Regions from separate parts of the Homo sapiens genome. Here regions 1, 3, 4, 5, 6 and 7 are each linked to region 2. Evidence: promoter capture Hi-C in human tissues and cell types (Jung and others, 2019). All regions are on one chromosome and are shown on one strand. The core of a region is centred on a gene start or on the middle of the fragment in contact, and the rest is flanking DNA. Distances in the headings are between cores, read along the strand shown. Region 1 overlaps RAD52 (RAD52 DNA repair protein). Region 2 holds the start of B4GALNT3 (beta-1,4-N-acetyl-galactosaminyltransferase 3). Region 3 overlaps WNK1 (WNK lysine deficient protein kinase 1). Region 4 overlaps WNK1 (WNK lysine deficient protein kinase 1). Region 5 has its middle 9.4 kb from the start of WNK1. Region 6 overlaps WNK1 (WNK lysine deficient protein kinase 1). Region 7 overlaps WNK1 (WNK lysine deficient protein kinase 1).

Evidence for each region. The method cuts DNA at HindIII sites, captures the fragments that hold promoters and counts their contacts. A contact is called where the count stands out against the background at its distance.
Region 1: a contact is called between a fragment that was not itself captured here and the fragment with the promoter of B4GALNT3 in region 2, in 3 of the 25 tissues and cell types used here (dorsolateral prefrontal cortex, mesendoderm cells and spleen).
Region 3: a fragment that was not itself captured here is called in contact with the fragment with the promoter of B4GALNT3 in region 2 in 1 of the 25 tissues and cell types used here (dorsolateral prefrontal cortex).
Region 4: a contact is called between a fragment that was not itself captured here and the fragment with the promoter of B4GALNT3 in region 2, in 1 of the 25 tissues and cell types used here (dorsolateral prefrontal cortex).
Region 5: a contact is called between a fragment that was not itself captured here and the fragment with the promoter of B4GALNT3 in region 2, in 1 of the 25 tissues and cell types used here (heart right ventricle).
Region 6: a contact is called between a fragment that was not itself captured here and the fragment with the promoter of B4GALNT3 in region 2, in 2 of the 25 tissues and cell types used here (dorsolateral prefrontal cortex and lymphoblastoid cells).
Region 7: a contact is called between a fragment that was not itself captured here and the fragment with the promoter of B4GALNT3 in region 2, in 2 of the 25 tissues and cell types used here (dorsolateral prefrontal cortex and lymphoblastoid cells).

What each region holds. Positions count from the first base shown.
Region 1 is chr12:932,083-934,805 of GRCh38, reverse strand. RAD52 (RAD52 DNA repair protein) reads left to right here. Exons shown (of 12, transcript NM_134424.4): 2 at 1,730-1,831. The coding sequence starts at 1,748. LOC124902855 (a long non-coding RNA gene) reads right to left here. Exons shown (of 2, transcript XR_007063155.1): 1 at 2,001-2,723; 2 at 1-1,965. Among named protein-coding and RNA genes, the nearest start is that of RAD52, 16 kb to the left of the region's middle. The HindIII fragment of the contact is 6,084 bases long and covers 1-2,723 here.
Region 2 is chr12:458,496-461,195 of GRCh38, reverse strand. B4GALNT3 (beta-1,4-N-acetyl-galactosaminyltransferase 3) reads right to left here and starts at 1,257. Exons shown (of 20, transcript NM_173593.4): 1 at 651-1,257. The coding sequence starts at 819. RefSeq lists an enhancer at 1,106-2,089. The HindIII fragment of the contact is 8,839 bases long and covers 1-2,610 here.
Region 3 is chr12:790,819-793,521 of GRCh38, reverse strand. All of the region lies in intron 1 of WNK1 (WNK lysine deficient protein kinase 1), which reads right to left. Among named protein-coding and RNA genes, the nearest start is that of WNK1, 40 kb to the right of the region's middle. The HindIII fragment of the contact is 7,452 bases long and covers 1-2,703 here.
Region 4 is chr12:831,506-834,205 of GRCh38, reverse strand. The region is part of intron 4 of WNK1 (WNK lysine deficient protein kinase 1); the gene reads right to left. Among named protein-coding and RNA genes, the nearest start is that of WNK1, 80 kb to the right of the region's middle. The HindIII fragment of the contact is 7,038 bases long and covers 1-2,700 here.
Region 5 is chr12:741,786-744,498 of GRCh38, reverse strand. No RefSeq gene overlaps it. Among named protein-coding and RNA genes, the nearest start is that of WNK1, 9.4 kb to the left of the region's middle. RefSeq lists an enhancer at 1,024-1,143. The HindIII fragment of the contact is 8,426 bases long and covers 1-2,713 here.
Region 6 is chr12:878,528-881,227 of GRCh38, reverse strand. It overlaps WNK1 (WNK lysine deficient protein kinase 1), which reads right to left. Exons shown (of 28, transcript NM_018979.4): 11 at 1,197-1,655; 12 at 229-507. Among named protein-coding and RNA genes, the nearest start is that of RAD52, 70 kb to the left of the region's middle. The HindIII fragment of the contact is 5,036 bases long and covers 1-2,700 here.
Region 7 is chr12:847,919-850,618 of GRCh38, reverse strand. All of the region lies in intron 4 of WNK1 (WNK lysine deficient protein kinase 1), which reads right to left. Among named protein-coding and RNA genes, the nearest start is that of WNK1, 97 kb to the right of the region's middle. The HindIII fragment of the contact is 6,164 bases long and covers 1-2,700 here.

The sequences.
Region 1 (2,723 bases), core at 15-2,514, 470 kb before region 2:
TCACTTGATTTTTCTTCCCTACCCCCCAGCTTTTTTGAGGTATGACTGACAAAAATTGTATATATTTAGGGTGTACAATGTGATGATTTGATATGTGAATGCACTGTGAAATGATTACCACAGTCAAGGTAATTCACATATCCACCACCTCCCAGTTACCCTCTTAGCTAGTACAGGTTGGGTATTGCTTCTCTGAAATGCTTTGGGACCAGAAGTGTTTTGGACTTCAGATTTTGGAATATTTGAATATATATAATCAGATATCTTGGGAAGGGGACCCAAGTCTAAACATGAAATTCATTTGTTTTCAGAGCCTAAAGATGATTTTTTTTTTTTTTTTTTTTTGAGATGGAGTCTCACTCTCGCCCAGGCTGGAGTGCCGTGGCACAATCTCAGCTCACTGCAACCTCTGCCTCCCAGGTTCAAGCGATTCTCCTACCTCAGCCTCCCAAGTAGCTGGAATTACAGGCTCGCACTACCACACCCGGCTAATTTTTGTATTTTTATAAAGACATTTCACCATGTTGGCCAGGCTGGTCTCAAACTCCTGACCTCAGGTGATCCGCCCGCCTCAGCCTCCCAAAGTGCTGGGATTATAGGTGTCAGTGACTGCGTCTGGCTGATAATTGAATTTTTCTCTTGGAGAAGCTGAATAAACTGTGTGTTGTGTGCCTGCCTTTTTTTTTGTTTTTTTTTTTTTTTGAGACAGAGTCAGACACTCTGTCACCCAGGCTGGAGTGCGATGGGGTGGTCATAGCTCACTGCAGCCTCAAACTCCTGAGCTCAAGCGATCCTCCCACATCAGCCTCCTAAGTAGCATAGCACCACGCCTGGCTAATTTTTAAATTTTTTGTAGTGATGGGGTTTTGTTGTCTAGGCTAGTCTCAAACTCCTGGGCTCAAGCAGTCCTTCTGCCTTGGCCTCCCAAGGTGGTAGGATTATAGGTTTGAGCCACCATGCCTGGCCATTACCTGTGTTTTGACTATAACACATCATGTTGGCACTCAAAACGTTTTGGATTTTGGAGCATTTTGAATTTTGGATTTTTGGATTAGCAATGTTCCACCTATAGTACATTTTTTGTTTGCTTTCCCATAAAGAATTTTTTGTAATTTTGATTTTATAGTTCTAAATGTAATATATTCTTATTGTAAAAATCACCTTTAATAGCACCGCCAGAATAGCAAACATGTTAACAGAAAGGTAGAAGTAGACCTTAAAGAATCTTCAGCAGCTTGAGAGACCACAGCTAACCACTGAGGAACTCTGTTCTGGATTGGAGCAGTGCTTAGAAGCTTATAAATAACTCTTAGGGTATTGCATAGGGATTCTTTTTTTTTTTTTTTCCTGAAATGGAGTCTCGCTCTGTCGCCCAGGCTGGAGTGCAGGGTGTGATCTCAGATCACTGCAACCTCCGCCTCCTGGGTTCAAGCAATTCTTTGCCTCAGCCTCCCGAGTAGCTGGGATTACAGGCGCCTGCCACCATGCCCAGCTAATTTTTTTGGATTTTTAGTAGAGAGGGGGTTTCACCATGTTAGCCAGGATGGTCTCCATCTCCTGACCTTGTGATCCACCCACCTCGGCCTCCCAAAGTGCTGGGATTACAGGCATGAGCCACTGTGCCTGGCCGCATAAGGATTCTTTATGTGATTTTTCAGTAGAGGCTCTTGCCTTTTACTTTAAACATTCTTTGAGGGTTGTTTTTTTTTTCCGCTTTTTATTTATATAGAGGTCAACCAGAATCAAGATGTCTGGGACTGAGGAAGCAATTCTTGGAGGACGTGACAGCCATCCTGCTGCTGGCGGCGGCTCAGTGTTATGCTTTGGACAGGTAACTGTGGTTCCTTCATGCCGGGAAAGAATGAGGTGAAGTGAGTAAAGTTAGGGCAAGGCAGTTTGTAGAGCATCGTAGTACATGTGTGAGCAGTACCTAGTACGTTTACCTAGTACGTGTGTGAGCAGTACCTAGTACGTTTACCTAGTACGTGTGTGAGCAGTACCTAGTACGTTGACGCGGTGCGTGCGGGGGCAGTACCTAGTACGTTTACATAGTACATGTGTGAGCTATTTGTTATTGGTTTTTCCTTTAGATGCATTTTTTGGGAGTCTTGTGAACTCTGGAGGGCATTTTGGAATGTTAGCTATCAAAAGACTGATAGTACTGGGGATTAGATTTAGATTTTAAATTTTTTGTGGGGGGGGATAGATAACATATTTGTATGACATCAAATTCAAAATGAAACTGTGAAAATCTCCCTATTTCCTATTGCCCCTGTGTGCATGCCACCCAGTTCTATTTCTTTTTTTTTTCGAGACTGAGTCTTGCTTTGTCACCCAGGCTGCAGTGCAGTGGTGCGATCTCAGCTCACTGCAACTTCCACCCTCTGGATTCAAGCAATTCTCCTGCCTCAGCCTCCCAAGTAGCTGGGATAACAGGCATGCACCACCATGGCCAGCTAATTTTTATATTTTTAGTAGAGATGGGGTTTAACCATGTTGGCCAGGCTGGTCTCGAACTCCTGACCTCAGGTGATCCGCCTGCCTCGGCCTCCCAAAGTGTTTGGATTACAGGCGTGAGCCACCACGCCCGGGCTTAATTTTTTTGTATTTTTAGTAGAGATGTGGTTTCACCATGTTGGCCAGGGTAGTCTTGAACTCCTGACCTCGTGATCTGCCTGCCTCGGCCTCCTAAATGCTGGAATTACAGGCATGAGCCACCGCGC
Region 2 (2,700 bases), core at 8-2,507:
GGCCCGAACAGGAGAAAGAGGGCGCAGCGAGGAGGTGGGAGATTCAAAGAGCCGAGGACGGAGGCTGGGAGAGGAGCGACGTATGGGAAGCGGGGAAGAGACGGGACTCTCCGAGGTATGGTAAAAAAGAACCCCCCTAGAAGATGCAGCAGGAGAGGAAACGGAGTGAGCCAAACAGAAGGCGGTGGGCAAAGTTTGGGCTGCGCGGACTGGAGCGCGCGCCTGGGTGTGGACGGCCGAGGGCATCCCGCACCCGAATCCCTAGCTCGCGCGTGGACCCCACGGACCTCCTCCCCGGGAACCGCAAGCCCGGAGCGGCTGGAGGGGCCCGGTCTCCGCCAGCGTCTCGGCGGGACGGGCGGGGAGCCTCTCTCCGGGTCGCTCTCCGAGGGGAGACGCGAGGAGCCCCCAGGGTGCCCCGGACCCACGTGGCCGGCGGGCAGGCCCGGGCTCGGGAATTCTGCGCTCGGCCCCGCGGCTTCCCCCGCCCGCAGCTCTCCCCGAGTACGCGCGGGGCGACGCCGGGCACCTGAGGGAGAAATGGGTGGGAAATCGGGTCTGAGGATGGGATGAGAGGCGGGTCCCCCCAACGCAGGAGCCGCCGCCGCCGCCCACCCCCGCGCCCTTCGCCTCCCCTGGGTGCTACTTACTCCGGTTCAGGGGGTTCCCGCCGACCTGGGCCGACGCCACCAGTTCCAGATACAGAGTCCAGAGCCCCACAGACACCACGGCGAGCGCCAGCAGCAGCCGGAAGCGCCTCCGCAGCAGCTTCACCGGGCGCAGGAGCAGCGGGGGCCGCGCGGCCCGGGGGCTCCCCATGGCGCTGCGCCGAGGCGGCCGCCGCCAGCGCGGGCTCCAACCCCCCGAGCCGCCGCCCCCCGGCCGGGCCCCGCGCCCAGGGCGCCCCGCGTCCCGGCCCAGCGTCTCAGGGCTGCGCCGAGGCCGTCTCTCCCGGCCGCTCTCCGGCGGGGCTCGGGCTCATGCTCCGGGCGCGAGGGGTCTCCGGGCTGCGCGGGCGCCCAGCAGGTCTCTCCGGGAGCCGAGCCCGGCTCCTCCTCCGCGCGTGTGTTCCGCGCCGGGCTCTCCTCCCCACGCCTCTCCCGTCGCAGGCTCGCTGCCGCCCTCCCTCCCTGCGCGCCCGCCCTCACTCGCTGCCCAGAAGGAGGCTTCCCCGGCGCCCGCCCGCCTGCCTCCGCCCGCGCCCCCGCCAGCCCCGGACCGGGCTCCGGGCTCTGGGCTCTCCTGCTCGCGGAACCTGGCCCGCCCCCGGCCCCGCCCCCGCCCCCGCCCCGGGCACAGGTGGGCTCCGCCCCCGAGAAGCCAGGGACGCGAAGAGGCCATTCGGCTTCCCTAGGGGAGCGAGAGGTGGGGCCAGAGAACTGGTGCCTGGTGCCTCCCCCGACTGGGAACGGGTGGGATGAGGAGGGGGCGAGTGATGATGCGGACTCTGGGTGACCGAGGGAAACCGAGTCACCACCCAGGCGCCTAACGGTGTGGTTTTAGGCAGAAGCGAAGTAGAGGCTGGTTTGGGCGACGCCCAAGGCTTTAGCCTCAGAGCCTTTCGTCGCCAACAGCAACGACCCGACTCCCTGCTTGACGAAACCAGTAGGCGTGAAATATCACGGGAGCCACTGGACGCTTAACGCAGACATAGCTTCGTTTTCCAGTTGAGATTTGAAGACCTTTCTTCCCAGCCTGAACCACATCTCCGAGAGGCGCTGGGGAAGTCGTACAGCCCCCACGGTGAACCCCAGCAAGCAGTTTTCCCCAGACTGGGCTGGAATGGCTGTTTGAAGAGAGTAGGTGTTTGAGGGTTCCGAAAAAGAATTTTAAAAAGAAAAGAAAAGTATTCACTCTTAGAGTTGAAAAGATCAGCAAGATAAGCCAGGCACAGTGGCTCACGGCTGTCGTCCCAGCACTTTGAGAGGCTGAGGCAAGAGGATCTCTTGATCTCTGGAGGTCAAGGCTGCAGTGAGCCGTGATTGCGTCAGTGCACTCCAGCCTGGGCAACACAGCAAGACCCTGTCTCAAAAAAAAAAAAATCAGTATTCCAGTCCTCTGCCTTCAGGCAGGTAAAGCATTATTATCTGATTTAAATTAGATAAAGTATCAAGGGGCAGAATAACTGCCCCAGGTCACTCAGCAAGTTATACTGCAGTTTTCTTTTCCATTATCTCTTCTGGGAAAAATGGTCAGGAGACTATGGGAAAAGTGAAGGATCAAAGTGTTCCTGGACATTTTAAAATCAAATGAATATCACACAAGTACTGTTCCAAGACAGAGGTTCTCACAGAATTGAGAACTATGTTTCCCTTCTCTCTGTTCTCACCTCAGTTGGATATTCAATAGTTTCTACAGGACTTTTCCTAATTAGCCTCCCCAACTCCAAGCTTCCCATCGCATCCTGTCCACTACCACCAGATGGTCTTCATAAAAAGCCAGGCATGGTGACACACACCTGTAGTCCTAACTTACTCGGGAGGCTGAGGTGGGAGGAGTGTAAGGTTGTAGTGAGCCACAATCATGCCACTGCACTCCAGCCTGGGTGACAGAGCAAGACCTTGTCTCAAAAAAAAAAAAAAAAAAAAAAAAATCCCGTATGTAGTCACACACCTGCTCAAAAATATTTAATGGCTTCCAATGCTTATTGATTAAGATACACACTGTAAATCCAGAATTCAGGGCCTTCCAGAACCTTTT
Region 3 (2,703 bases), core at 127-2,626, 330 kb before region 2:
AACTGTTATCAACCTGTCTTTTCATTTGGAATAATTATTTCCAATGTTTTACTACCAATTGAAAAAAGAAATACTATCATTATTTTTGACCGAAATTTACTATTTAGCTCTTGTGGGCAGTCTCCTTGTTTTAATTTACATTAATTAGGAGAACCAACACGTTTTCTCCTTTTTAACTTTATAGGCTTTTCTAGTCACCCAACTTCAGTAAACTCTACTTTATAAAGTTCTTCCATAAAACAGCTAAGAATTTGGTATCTCAATGATTCTAAAAACTACAGAGAAAACATCTGACTCATTCATTCATCATAAAAAGCCTATTATTTGGTAACAGTCATTTTTACTAGGCCACATGAAGATGTTATTCTCTAAAATTAAATGGCTGGCTGATTGTGCTCTATTGCTATAAGTTTATTTCTTAGGTACAGGAGGATCATATAGAAGCATGTTAGCCTTGTTTATTAATAATAGCAGCTACCGTGACTTAGTTACCAGGCTAAGGTGTCCACATGTAGTCTCATTTAAACCTTGTAATAACACTAAAACATTACCCTCATTTTACACATGAAGAAAACAGAGGCTTAAAGGTATTTATATCCAAGTTGTGTCTCTTGTCCTGAGTTCACTAGACCTGATTAAGAACTCTATGAATTAAAGAAAAAAAAAGTCATAGAATAATATGTTTATATATATTTTTTTTAATGTGAGTACATATTTGTGTAAAAGCATGAAGAATTGGAAATACATACAAATATATGGTTGCCTCTGGGCAAAGGAGTAAAGGAGGTTAGGGTCAAGAAAGAACTTCCAGGTTCTGCTGTAAATTTTTTATATGGCTTTAATCTTAAGCAAAACAATATAAATGTATTCCTCATTGTAAGCTTTTTTGTTACAAGAATAACAGTATCAGCCGGGCGTGGTGACTCATACCTGTAATCCCAGCACTTTGGGAGGCTGAGGTGGGCGGATCACGAGGTCAGGAGTTCTAGACCAGGCTGGCCAACATGGTGAAACCCCACATCTACTAAAAGTACAAAAAAATTAGCTGGGCGTGGTGGCGGGTGCCTGTAGTCCCAGCTACTCAGGAGGCTGAGGCAGGGAGAATCACTTGAGGCTGGGAAGCGGAGGCTGCAGTGAGCCGAGATTGCACCACTGCGCTCCAGCCTGGGTGACACAGTGAGACTCCGCCTCAAAAAAAAAAAAAAAAAAAAAAGAATAACAGTATCATAAAAATTGAAACATTTATTAATCAGAACTAATACATATACTACTGTAGTTCTGTGCCAATCTCTCTATCACCTTTATACCTTTGCTCTTCCTAAGCTCACAGTATACATTATTTCCCTCTCTCATTTCATGTGGCTTCTTCCTTCAAAAAACTTTGCCTTGACAAGCTCTCTCACTTTTGCGGGGCTAGCGTAGGGGAGTAGCAATGTTTAGGTATAACCAAGATAATTAAAAAGTTTCTGTATTTAGGTCTACATGGGGAATAAAGGCAGGAAGGCTGACCAACAGTTTGGTGTACTGGGAAATCCTGCAATTCCCCTCATCTGTTGTGCACCCTCTGATAGGACCTGGGTAGAATAAAGCTGCTATTCCCTATTGGAGTCTGGGAAGTGGAGGCAGTGACATTATGATGTGTTCTAAACCTGGGTTAATACATGACTCTTGGACAACCATATGTATAAAAATAAAAAGGCTAAAAAGAAACATCATCCCCCAATTTAAGATTAGAGATAAAAAAAATTATCAAGAAAGGGCATCATTTATATTAATGTCATATATTTTAAGCACAATGTACTATGCTAAGTAAGCTGTAAATGACAATTTTATCTGCCCTCTTCAATATCTTTCACAAAGTGAAACCATTAATAAATACCTGATGAACTAAAATGGATTTCCATCTTAGGGTGGCAGGCTAGATATAAAATGTAATAGGAAATGTAGTTTTTTTTTTTTTAAAAAAGAAGCTCTCTCAAAGAACCTCTTGCGTCAAGTATAAGCTGAAACCTAGAAGAGAATGTTATTATAGAAAAGCAAAGATCTACGTTTTAGATAAAGAACCATACTGTACAAAAAATAATTTTCACATACATGATATAATTTATAACCGCACTTTACGATCATTATTTATAACAGCCACTCTGTTATCACTGAAATGTTGTGCATATACATGAAAATTTCCAGATAGGCCTCTCTATTCATGTATTATCTTTTTCTTAGTTATAAGGAAGTCCTTTATTATGTGTTCATAATTTTGTGTATGTGTGTGTGTGTGTGTGTGTGTGTGTGTGTGGTGAGAGAAATAGTAAAATTCTGTTACTGACATTTCTAGATTTCTATTCTAAGTATGTTACTTAATTATTATATATTGTGGTACTATGACATCCACAATATTTACTACGATCTGCCAATCCTTAAAAAAAGGTTTTATACCCCCTTTTTCAAATATCAAGCTGTCTTGGGTTTAGAAGATTTTCTATTCTAGAGAACTGTCTCTAGAATCCAAACATAGCACATTTCCCTTATTTTTTCACTACAGCTATAATTCATTTCCATAGAAGACCTGGTTAAACCTAGCTTTTCTAGTCAAATCATCAAGTAAATCCTCTTTGGACTTCTACATCTTCATTTCTAAAATTAAGAGGAAGAGATCAGGCAGAAAGAACCAGAAGATGTACTTAAGTTCCCTTCCAAAAGAAA
Region 4 (2,700 bases), core at 80-2,579, 370 kb before region 2:
TTCACTCTATTTGATCAATTTGCCTTTCCTTCCATTGTACTACGGTGTTTGGCATCTCAGCATTCATGTAAATCCTATTCCTGCTTCTTAGAATGGCCTCTCACCATTCTTCTACCTTCTCTTTTTGACAGTTCATACAACAGCTCTTTTTGTGAAATCTTCCCTAATCCATAGCAGGGTTATCCATTGTTCCTCCACTCTCCTTAGTGCTTGTCTCCATTACAATACTCACCATAATGTAATTATAATTCTTTGTTTACATATTAATCTTCTATATTAGAGGTAGTTTTCTGAAGACAGGGAATATGATTATTCACCTTTACTTAGTATCAAGCTCTGGGCATGGGACATAGCAGGGATTCAGAAAATGTTGCATTTACTGGCACTGAGATTTATTTTGTATTTAGGATAGTGCTACAGATAAGGATGAAATTATACAGATGTACTAGATTAAAATATTTTAAGGAATATAAAGCAATAAAAATAATAAGCAAGTACATTAATTGAATTTATGAATTTATAAGTAGAATAACCACTAATAAACAAAATTTTATCATTCATATCAATTGAGAAGAATCAGCTCAGAAAAGGCAAAGATCATTATACAGTGAAACCAATCAGATAAAATGTCATGGAGGAAGACCGTTAAGTATATGGATTGACTGGATAGCAGAAAAGCTTATAGTGGAGGTACAGTATTATATAACATTTACAAATGGATAGGAATACAGGAAAGGATGTGGCATATGTGCGAGATAATGAAGAGAACTGATTTAACTAAAATAGAGTGCTTGGATGAAGATGAAGAATAGCAAAGATTAAGAATTTGTACTTGCTCTGATATCAGCAAACTGGTATCTTAAGTTCCTTATACCAAGAAAGGATAGCAAGAAAGCTCAACAAGTTTAAGTGAAATAAAAAAATAAATTCACAATGTAAATTACTTCTGGAATATAATGCAAGGTGTGCAGTAAGGAAGATGTGAAATCAGAGTTGTGGCAATGGGAATGAAGAAGGCTTGCATCTAAGAGGTATTCTGAAGCAAGAACCTTATAAACTGGAAGTAGTGGAAGCAGCGAGTAAAAAACAAGAAATCAAATATACCTCTTAAGTTTTCTACAATTTTAAACAAAATAAAGGAGGAAATTACCCAATAAACAGTCGACCCTATGCTCAAAGGAAAAAAAAAAAGAGAGAATGTAAATTACAACGCATCAGGGGAAGAAAGGGGAATAATAAGAGACATGAACTGGGAATGATGATACAGAACTCTGAAAGGCAAAGCAGATGAGCTTTCTAAGGGCATAAATGTAGAATAATGATTAGGGTACTTATCAGAATCATCTGAAGGCATAAAAAAATTTCTCCTGCCCCCATTCAGCCCAAATTGAGAGTCAGTGCTTCAGGGATTACAATTATATTGTGTATTAGAATCTGGGTGAGTATTAAGAAGAGGTTAATAAATTTAACAGTAAGGCCTCAGGCCAGACACTTGTAGACATACACCTAATAATAATAACTGACAAAATACCATCCCAATTACAAAGCCAGAAGTAACTTGAGAGTTACACACTTTCTCCATAAACAATAGCTGTCATTTTTACTGGGTATGAAACCTCAAACTTCATATGAAATTAAACTAATTGTCCAAAGTAGCTCCATATCCATCAACAACAGAATCACATACAAATATACAACAAGGATATTGAAGGAATATTCACAGCAATAAATAATTATAATTAATCTTTGACTCCAAAGATTTCTCCCAAGCCTTTATGAAGAGGTAAAATTTGGTCTACCTAAAGCAAAATGTTTCCTATCAGTTTTTAATAATAAACATTTCTGGCTCATGCCTGTAATTCCAGCACTTTGGGAGGCAGAGGTGGGCAGATCACAAGGTCAGGAGATCGAGACCATCCTGGCTAACACAGTGAAACCCCATCTCTACTAAAAATACAAAAAATTAGCCAGGTGTGGTGGCGGGCACCTGTAGTCCCAGCTACTTGGGAGGCTGAGGCAGGAGAATAGCGTGAACCCAGGAGGCAGAGCTTGCAGTGAGCCGAGATGGCGCCACTGCACTCCAGCCTGGGCGACAGAGCGAGACGCCGTCTCAAAAAATAAATAAATAAATAAAAAATTAAAAATAAACATTTCCATTCTGTTCAGCTATCAAAATCTAAATAAGCAATTGATAATTACATCTTCTATATCAAAATTCAATTAAATTACATCACTAAAAATGAAATAATGAGATACTATGAGCTTCTCGGTGCAATATAACATATACAGCACCACATATTAAGTATCCTTGCAAAAAATGTTTAGCCTAAATTTTATCAAGACTTTTGAACAGTGGTTCTCAAACTTTTGTCTCAGGACCCCTTTATACTCTTAAAATTAACATTATTGGGGACCTCAGAGGGATTTTGTCTATGTGTGTTACATCTATTAATATTTACCGTGGCAGATGGTAAACCTGAGAAAGTTTAAAAATGTTAATTCATTAAAAATTATAACTCATTATGTTACAAATATATATTTAAAATTAAAAAGTCAGTATTTTCCAAAACAAGAAAAATTTAGTGATAAGACTGGTATTGTTTTACATTTTTGTAATCTTTTTAAATATATGGTTTAATGGAAGACAAAGGAATTTTTTTTTTTTTTTGAGACAGAGTCTTACTCTGTCACCCAGGCTGG
Region 5 (2,713 bases), core at 50-2,549, 280 kb before region 2:
CTTTTTTGTTTGGTTTGTTTTTTACAGAGTAGAGACAAGGTCTTCCTGTGTTACCTAGGCTGGTCTCAAACTCCTGGGCTCAAGGAATCTTCCTGCCTCAGCCTCCCAAAGTGCTGGGATTACAGGTGTGAACCACCGTGCCCAGCCAGAAATGTTTGTTCTTTAAAGATGATATTACAAAAATGAAAGGGCCACAGACTGGGAGTCAATATTGCAAAACAAATATCTGAAAAAATATTTGTAAACAGAATATATAGGAAACTCTTACAATTCAACCTTAAGATAATAGTACAGTAAAAATGTGTGCAAAAGATTTGAACAGATACTTCACCAAACAATATAAATGAAAGGATAAATAGGCACATGAAAAGATGTACATCATTAGTCATTAAGGAAGTGAAAATTAAAATTACCATGAAATATCACCACATACCCACGAAAATGACTAAAATTAAAAATGGTTGGTGAGGATGTAGAGCAACTAGTTTCTCATACGTTGCTACCGGGAGTACAGTGGTTCAGCCAGTTTGGGAAATAGCTTGACTCTCTAATAATTAAAGTTGAACATATACTTACCACATGATCTAGCAATTCCACTGCCAGATATTTAACCCAAGAGAAATGGAAACATGTCCACACAAAGACTTGCATGGAAAATTTCATAACAATTTTACTCATGATAGCCAAAAACTAGAAACAAACCGAATATCTATCAACTGGTGAACAGGCAAGTAAATTGTGTTGTGCCCTTATGATGGAATGCTACTCAGCAATAAAAATAAACGAAGTGGTATGTGCAATCATATGGATAACTCCCAAAGCATGATGCTAAATGAAAGAAGCCAGACACAGAAGTCTACTGATTTCATTTATGTGGCCATGTAGAAAACCCAAAACTGGCGGCAGAATGATCAGTTCTGGGGTTAGAGGGGGAGGAAATGAACTGCAGAGGAGCGCAGAGAACTTTTTGAGTCACGAGAATGTTTTCTGTCTTAATTTTGGTGATGGTTACATGACTGTATTCATTCAAAACTCATTAAGTGGGTGATTATACTTTTTTTTTTAAGGACAGGGTCTTGCTCTGTTGCCCAGGCTAGAGTGCTGTGGTGCAATCATAGCTCATCACAGCCTCAAATTCCTGGGCTCAAGGGATCCTCAGGCCTCAGCCTCCTGAGTAGCTGGGACTACAGATGCACACCACCATGCCAAGCTAATTTTTTTTTTTTCGTAGAGACGGGGATCTTGCTATGTTAATGATTATCCCAACTTGGTCTCCCAAAGTGCTGGGATTACAGGTGTGAGCCACCGCACCTGGCCCTGACTATACTTTAAATGGGCAATTTTTTATTGTATATAAGTTATTCTTCAAGAAATCAGATTTTTAAAATGATATTTAGTTGTGCCAAAATTATTGAAACATAATATTGAATTATTGAATACTCTATAAAGCATCCTATTCTGCTTACAAACTATTTGTCTCAATACCCAAGAGATATGAAACCTACCTGAAAAGTCTACATACACTCTATGGTAAAAATGAAAAAATGATATTACTAATTCAGTTTGAAAAACCTTTAAGCAATGGTCATTTTCATCCATTTCGATGGTTGGGAGGGATAGGGATAGCTATCAAGACAGATATTGAAAAGATTCTGAACATAATGTTCACCTGAGTACCTCCTTACCAGTAAATAGAAGGACAAGCTTCCCAACTCCTTATGATCTCTAAGAGTTTGCTTACATTATTTAGTCATTTATGATCAAGGCACATTCTGTATGCTACTTATATATTCATAATTTGACATTCAGTGATAATTTTTTGAATCTTTTTTTTTTTGAGACGGAGTCTTGCCCTGTCGCCCAGCCTAGAGTGCAATGGCGCAATCTCAGCTCACTGCAACCTCCGCCACCCAGGTTCAAGCAACTCTCCTGCCTCAGCTTCCCGAGTAGCTGGGATTACAGGCACCTACCACCACGCCTGGCCGATTTTTGTATTTTTAGTAGAAATGGGGTTTCACCATGCTGGCCAGTCTGGTCTCGAACTCCCGACCTCAGGTGATCTGCCCACCTCGGCCTTCCAAAGTGCTGGGATTACAGGCGTTAGCCACCGCGCCCAGCCAATTTTCTGAATCTTAAGATAATTTTACTGAACATACTTTGCTTAATTAACCTCTACAGTCAGGTTAATTCTGTAACCAAAAAGAGTATTTAGCAAATTCAACAACAGCAATAATATTATCATCTTCCAGCGTCTGCCTGTGTTTGGACCAATTGAAGATATGGTAAATTGACTCCCTTAGAATAGCTGGGAATTAGGAAAAGAGTGCCAAACTCTATAGCAGGTAATACTTCTCAGTAGATAGAAGTATACATTCTCTTAAGACAGTAATAATACTCTTTAAATAGTAGTCTCGGCCAGGTGCAGTGGCTCACACCTGTAATCCCAGCACTTTGGGAGGCCAAGGTGAGTGAATCACCTGAGCTCAGGAGTTCGAGACCAGCCTGGCCAACATGGCAAAACCCTGTCTCTACTAAAAATACAAAAATTTGCTGGGCGTGGTGGCATGCACCTGTAATCCCAGCTACTTGGGAGGCTGAGGCGGGAGAAGTGCTTGAACCCGGGAGGCGGAGTTTGCAGTGAGCTGAGATTGTGACACTGCACTCCAGTCTGGGCGACAGAGCAAGACTCCTTCTAAATAATAATAATAATAAT
Region 6 (2,700 bases), core at 164-2,663, 420 kb before region 2:
AGGGTTCATCTTCTCCAAGGCACACTCACTTCCCAACAGAACAGCCAGTGGAAACAAGGACCCCACATTGGCATTTCATTCTGCTGTAAGAAAAAGTCATGCAGAAGTTAGTTTGACATGGTCTCCAAATAAGTTCTAAACCAGGGGAGCCTGTTTCTTTCTCCTTTATCATTGTTGTCCAATTACATATATACGTTTTACATATAAACATGCAGTAATTCTATTTACCTCCAAAACTGCTTGCTGGGAGGATGTAGTGGGGGCTTGTGCTAAACTCCCTCCTGGCTGGGACACTTGAACCTGTCCTCCTACACCACCCATAGGAACTAAAAGATTTGATTCCACATAAGGCTGCACCACTGTGGGAAAGTACCCAGGTGTAGCCAGTACTTCTGTCGGCATGGGAGGGGATAGGACTGTAGAATGGATGCAAACAGAAGCCACGTTGGAAGAGGGAGCAATATTTGAATCTCCTGGGTACTGTGGTGGCAGTCGAGGTGGGAAGCCCTGTGACAGAAATGAGGAAGGTGAGTTAGAGCAGGTTGGGGGTCAATAAATTAGCAAAACAGCAAGACATGCAAAAAAAAAAAAAAGAAGCACACAGCAAAGAAGAATAGTAGCCAATCTCTTTCTAATAATCTAAAGGGCATATAAAGACCACATTCTTGAAATGAAGTAGTAGACTGGTTCCAACAGAAGAGACAGGACTCTACAATACTACTTTATTGTCGGTTATCTTCACCTAGAGATGATTTAAATAGGAGGAACACAATTTCTTCCTAGCCAATCTTAAATGGAAAAATGCAAAAATTCTTCCACATAACAGTCATATCATGAAATGCTAATTTTCCCAGTCTAAACCCCGAAGCTTTTTGTTGATACCATGTTGGCTATTCTATTTATTCTACCCATATATGTAAAAGTTGCCAGGTGTACTATTAACCACATCTAGCATTCAATCAGCTTACAGTGAATACTGAGAGAACCATTTTTCTCTGAAGAAGTGTCTTGAGAAAAATGGATCAGGAATCACTGAACATCATTATCCAATCCTTTCTCAGAATTTTACTATTTTGCTTCTCTAGTTGACATGTTATTGCTAGTTATTCTGACACTCAACTATTAGATTTCCATGTTCCTGATGATCTACTAGGATCAAACTCTGTGGTGCCCTCTTTTGCTAACTAACACAATACCTGGTACAGAACATCTCCAGAGGAAAGTGGAACCTCAGCAGCTTGTCCAAGGTTAGCTGGTATTCCCATGGACTGAACTGCTGGTTGTAGGAGCTGTGGGTGAACCTGACTTGGCAGCTGAGTCACAGGCTGCAGAAGGGTTGGAAGCTGACTAGGAACCACAGTTGATACCCCCGGGATCGCAGCTGTTGTAGCAGATGAAGCCAACGTGAGCAGAGGCTGAGTAATGCCAGCTGCCATTGTGATGGGAAGGGATGAGAAACCTGTCTGAGCCGTAGACACATGAGGAGTTGATATGGGAATCTGAGAGACAGGGTACTGAGGGAGCAAGGGAGTAGGGAGCGGCTGTCCCACTGGAAGGAAATGAGCACCAGAGTGGACTGGAACAACCGAGGGTTGTGTCGCAACTGGGATCTGAGGTTCGCCTTGGATAGTTGGTACTGGCTGGGAAACTGGAAGCTGGGAAGGTAAAGAAAAACAAAACAGACAGGCTTAAAAAAAAAAAAAAAAAAAAAAAAGCAAGGCTGCCAAAAGCAAGATTTATGTATTAGCCAAAAAGAAGGAAAAAACAAACAAAAAAAAAAACACCAAACCAACAAAACCCTGCATACATTAGTGTTAAGTTAATATGCCACATAAGAATATGGAAAGGAGAGCAGGAGAGAAAGAGGCTAAATAGACTATTACTGTTCTACACCTTTTGTCATAGAAATATTTGCTAATGCTTCAGCATTTGGCAATAGAAGAGGACCCTTCCATAGACAAGGGGTTGGCTTTTTTTTTTAACAGCTTTATTGGAATATATTTTATATACCATAATGCTATCACTAAAGTTACGACTGCTGTTACAGTAGTTACTGAAATTCAAATGAATTCCTTCCCAGTGGAATTAAGATTTCATTCGTATTATTTCTAAAATTCTTAAGTCCAACATGGCTCAATAAAAATTGGTATAATTCACATATTTCACTCATTCTAGGATGCAATCATCCCTCTCCACTACCTGATCATTTTAACATGTGAGAAATTGGGATCTACTTTATAACTGATAATGTGGTACATAAAATATGGTACATTTTAAAGTTGATAGCATCTCAGATGTGATGAAATATTAGGGTAACAATACACTGTGCACATACATGCACAACAGTACTCAAAAATAAAGTTGAAAAAAGGTCATTCAGAAAAGCATACCTTCTACAGGGTACTTCTCAAGTGATTAGGAGGACTACTTAAGAAAAAAAAACATTCCACACAGTAAACAGTGCAGAAATCTACATGAAAATAAAGCATAGTTTCAAACCTAGAATATCAGACATAGCTGACACAATTCTAGGGAATGTCATAGGTTCAGTTACCAGAGCACCTTTATTTAACCTGTTATTTCTAATACCTGTTACATCAATTTTGGACTGGTAAGACTAGAAGTGAAACTTTGGATTGTCACTGCTGTCAGTAACGTACCCATTTACATTAAATAATGCATATGCACCAATGAGGTGAT
Region 7 (2,700 bases), core at 145-2,644, 390 kb before region 2:
CAAAAGCAATGGCAAAAAAAGCCAAAATTGACAAATGGGATCTAATTAAACTAAAGAGCTTCTGCACAGCAAAAGAAACTACCATCAGAGTGAACAGGCAACCTACAGAATGGGAGAAAATTTTTGCAATCTACTCATCTGACAAAGGGCTAATATCCAGAATCTACAATGAACTCAAACAAATTTACAAGAAAAAAATCAAACAACCCCATCAAAAAGTGGGCAAAGGTTATGAACAGACACTTCTCAAAAGAAGACATTTATGCAGCCAAAAGACACATGAAAAAATGCTCATCATCACTGGCCATCAGAGAAATGCAAATCAAAACCACAATGAGATACCATCTCACACCAGTTAGAATGGCGATCATTAAAAAGTCAGGAAACAACAGGTGCTGGACAGGATGTGGAGAAATAGGAACACTTTTACACTGTTGGAGGGACTGTAAACTAGTTCAACCATTGTGGAAGTCAGTGTGGCGATTCCTCAGGGATCTAGAACTAGAAATACCATTTGACCCAGCCATCCCATTACTGGGTATATACCCAAAGGATTATAAATCATGCTGCTATAAAGACACATGCACATGTATGTTTATTGTGGCAGTATTCACAATAGCAAAGACTTGGAACTAATCCAAATGTCCAACAATGATAGACTGGATTAAGAAAATGTGGCACATATACACCATGGAATACTATGCAGCCATAAAAAAGGATGAGTTCATGTCCTTTGTAGGGACATGGATGAAGCTGGAAACCATCATTCTCAGCAAACTATCGCAAGGACAAAAAACCAAACACCACATGTTCTCACTCATAGGTGGGAATTGAACAATGAGAACACATGGACACAGGAAGAGGAACATCACACACCGGGGCCTGTTGTGGGGTGGGGGTAGGGGGGAGGGATAGCATTAGGAGATATACCTAATGTTAAATGATGAGTTAATGGGTGCAGCACACCAACATGGCACATGTATACATATGTAACTAACCTGCATGTTGTGCACATGTACCCTAAAACTTAAGGTATAATAAAAAAAAATCAACAGTATTTATGTACACAAGTGGTACAAATTTTTTGCCTCTTCTTCTCCCTCCTATAAAAGTCTCAAAATTAAGACATTCCATTTGCCAGGAAGATCTCATAGACCCAAATAAAAACTACTTTAATTTTAGTGATTAAGGGAAAGTTTTTCTTCAGGGCATTAACAAAGATTGTAGAAACAGCATTGCTCATTGCTTTGTTGTAATGGGTAACAGATTAAAGTCCTCTCTCCCTTGTAATTTTGTAAGCTTGAATCCTGATCAAGACAGTGAATGCTAAGGCTTCAATTACCAACAGTACATAAGATAATGGCTTGGAAGCTGTTTGGAAGTAATACATCTAAAGGTTAGAAATGCTACTAATTCTAACAAGCTATCTCAAAGCAACTACCACTAATCTCTGGCTCAACACAATTTGTTACTACTAAGTAGTCTAGGATGTCAGGTATTGCTCAGAAATGCAGCAATGTGTGCTGCAAAAGTGCAGCCTACCTCTAACTTAACTGTATGAGCAAGCCTGTGTAGGACCATGCTTGGCTAAATGAAAGAGCTAGAAAACAAGTGCCACGTGTCCTGCCTCAAAGGTCCATCAGATATAAAGATGTGGGTAGTTTTAAAACTCTATTAGGCAACAAATAAACCAAACTGAGGGGGCTTTGGGGGGCTTGAGGAGACAAAGGTACGATGTAGGCACAAATATCTAGATTCTATAAAGAGCAACCTTTTCTATAAATCAAAATAAGAGTTTTCAATATATTACAACAAAAGTACCATTCACAGATAACAGTTTACATATCTAAACTTATTCCTCTTTCTCTCAAAGTCAGTGCCTTTCTCTGGATTTCCCCTATTTCTTTCAATCGTGTCATTATTTCCATAGTCCAGAGAAGAAACCTTAGTCATCATTGGATGCTTCTTCCCCCACAATATTTAAGTACTACTATTATTCTCTATGGGCTCTTAACACAAAGATAAAGTTAAAAACAACTGGGAAATGGTTTTGTGACTAGTATTCTTACTCTTCTCCAACAGCCAAAGATCTCTGACCAAGCAAAAAAAAAAAAAAAAAAAAGTTTTTACTGGCTTCTTTGCTGCCTCACAAGTCATTGTTTTTGTATTACAAAAGTAACCATCAAAGTTCTGATTTCTAATACCTCATCTCTTTAAGCCTAGACCAGTTTAAGATGGGCCTCATATTTCCATTCTCTTCATCTCCAATTTGTGTTTTACATTGTGGCTAGCTCCTACCATCTGACTCCATTTAAGCATCTGACATTTAACCATTTCCAATCATCTGGTATCATTTAACTCATAATCACACTGCTCAAAAACGGTTAATAGTTCTCCACACCTACTAAATGACCACAGGATCACAGATCTAGAATAAACCAGATTAAGAGTCCTTCCTTGTTCAAATAACAGAAATGTTAATTCTATGTCAAAGTTAGAATTAATCCATTAGCCAGCCAGGCGCGGTGGCTCACGCCTGTAATCCCAACACTTTGGAGGGCCGAAGCGGGCAGATCACGAGGAGGTCAAGAAAGACCATCCTAGCCAACATGGTGAAACCCCGTCTCTACTAAAAACACAAACATTAGCTGGGCATGTTGGCACATGCCTGTAGTCCCAGCTACTCGGGAGGCTGAGTCA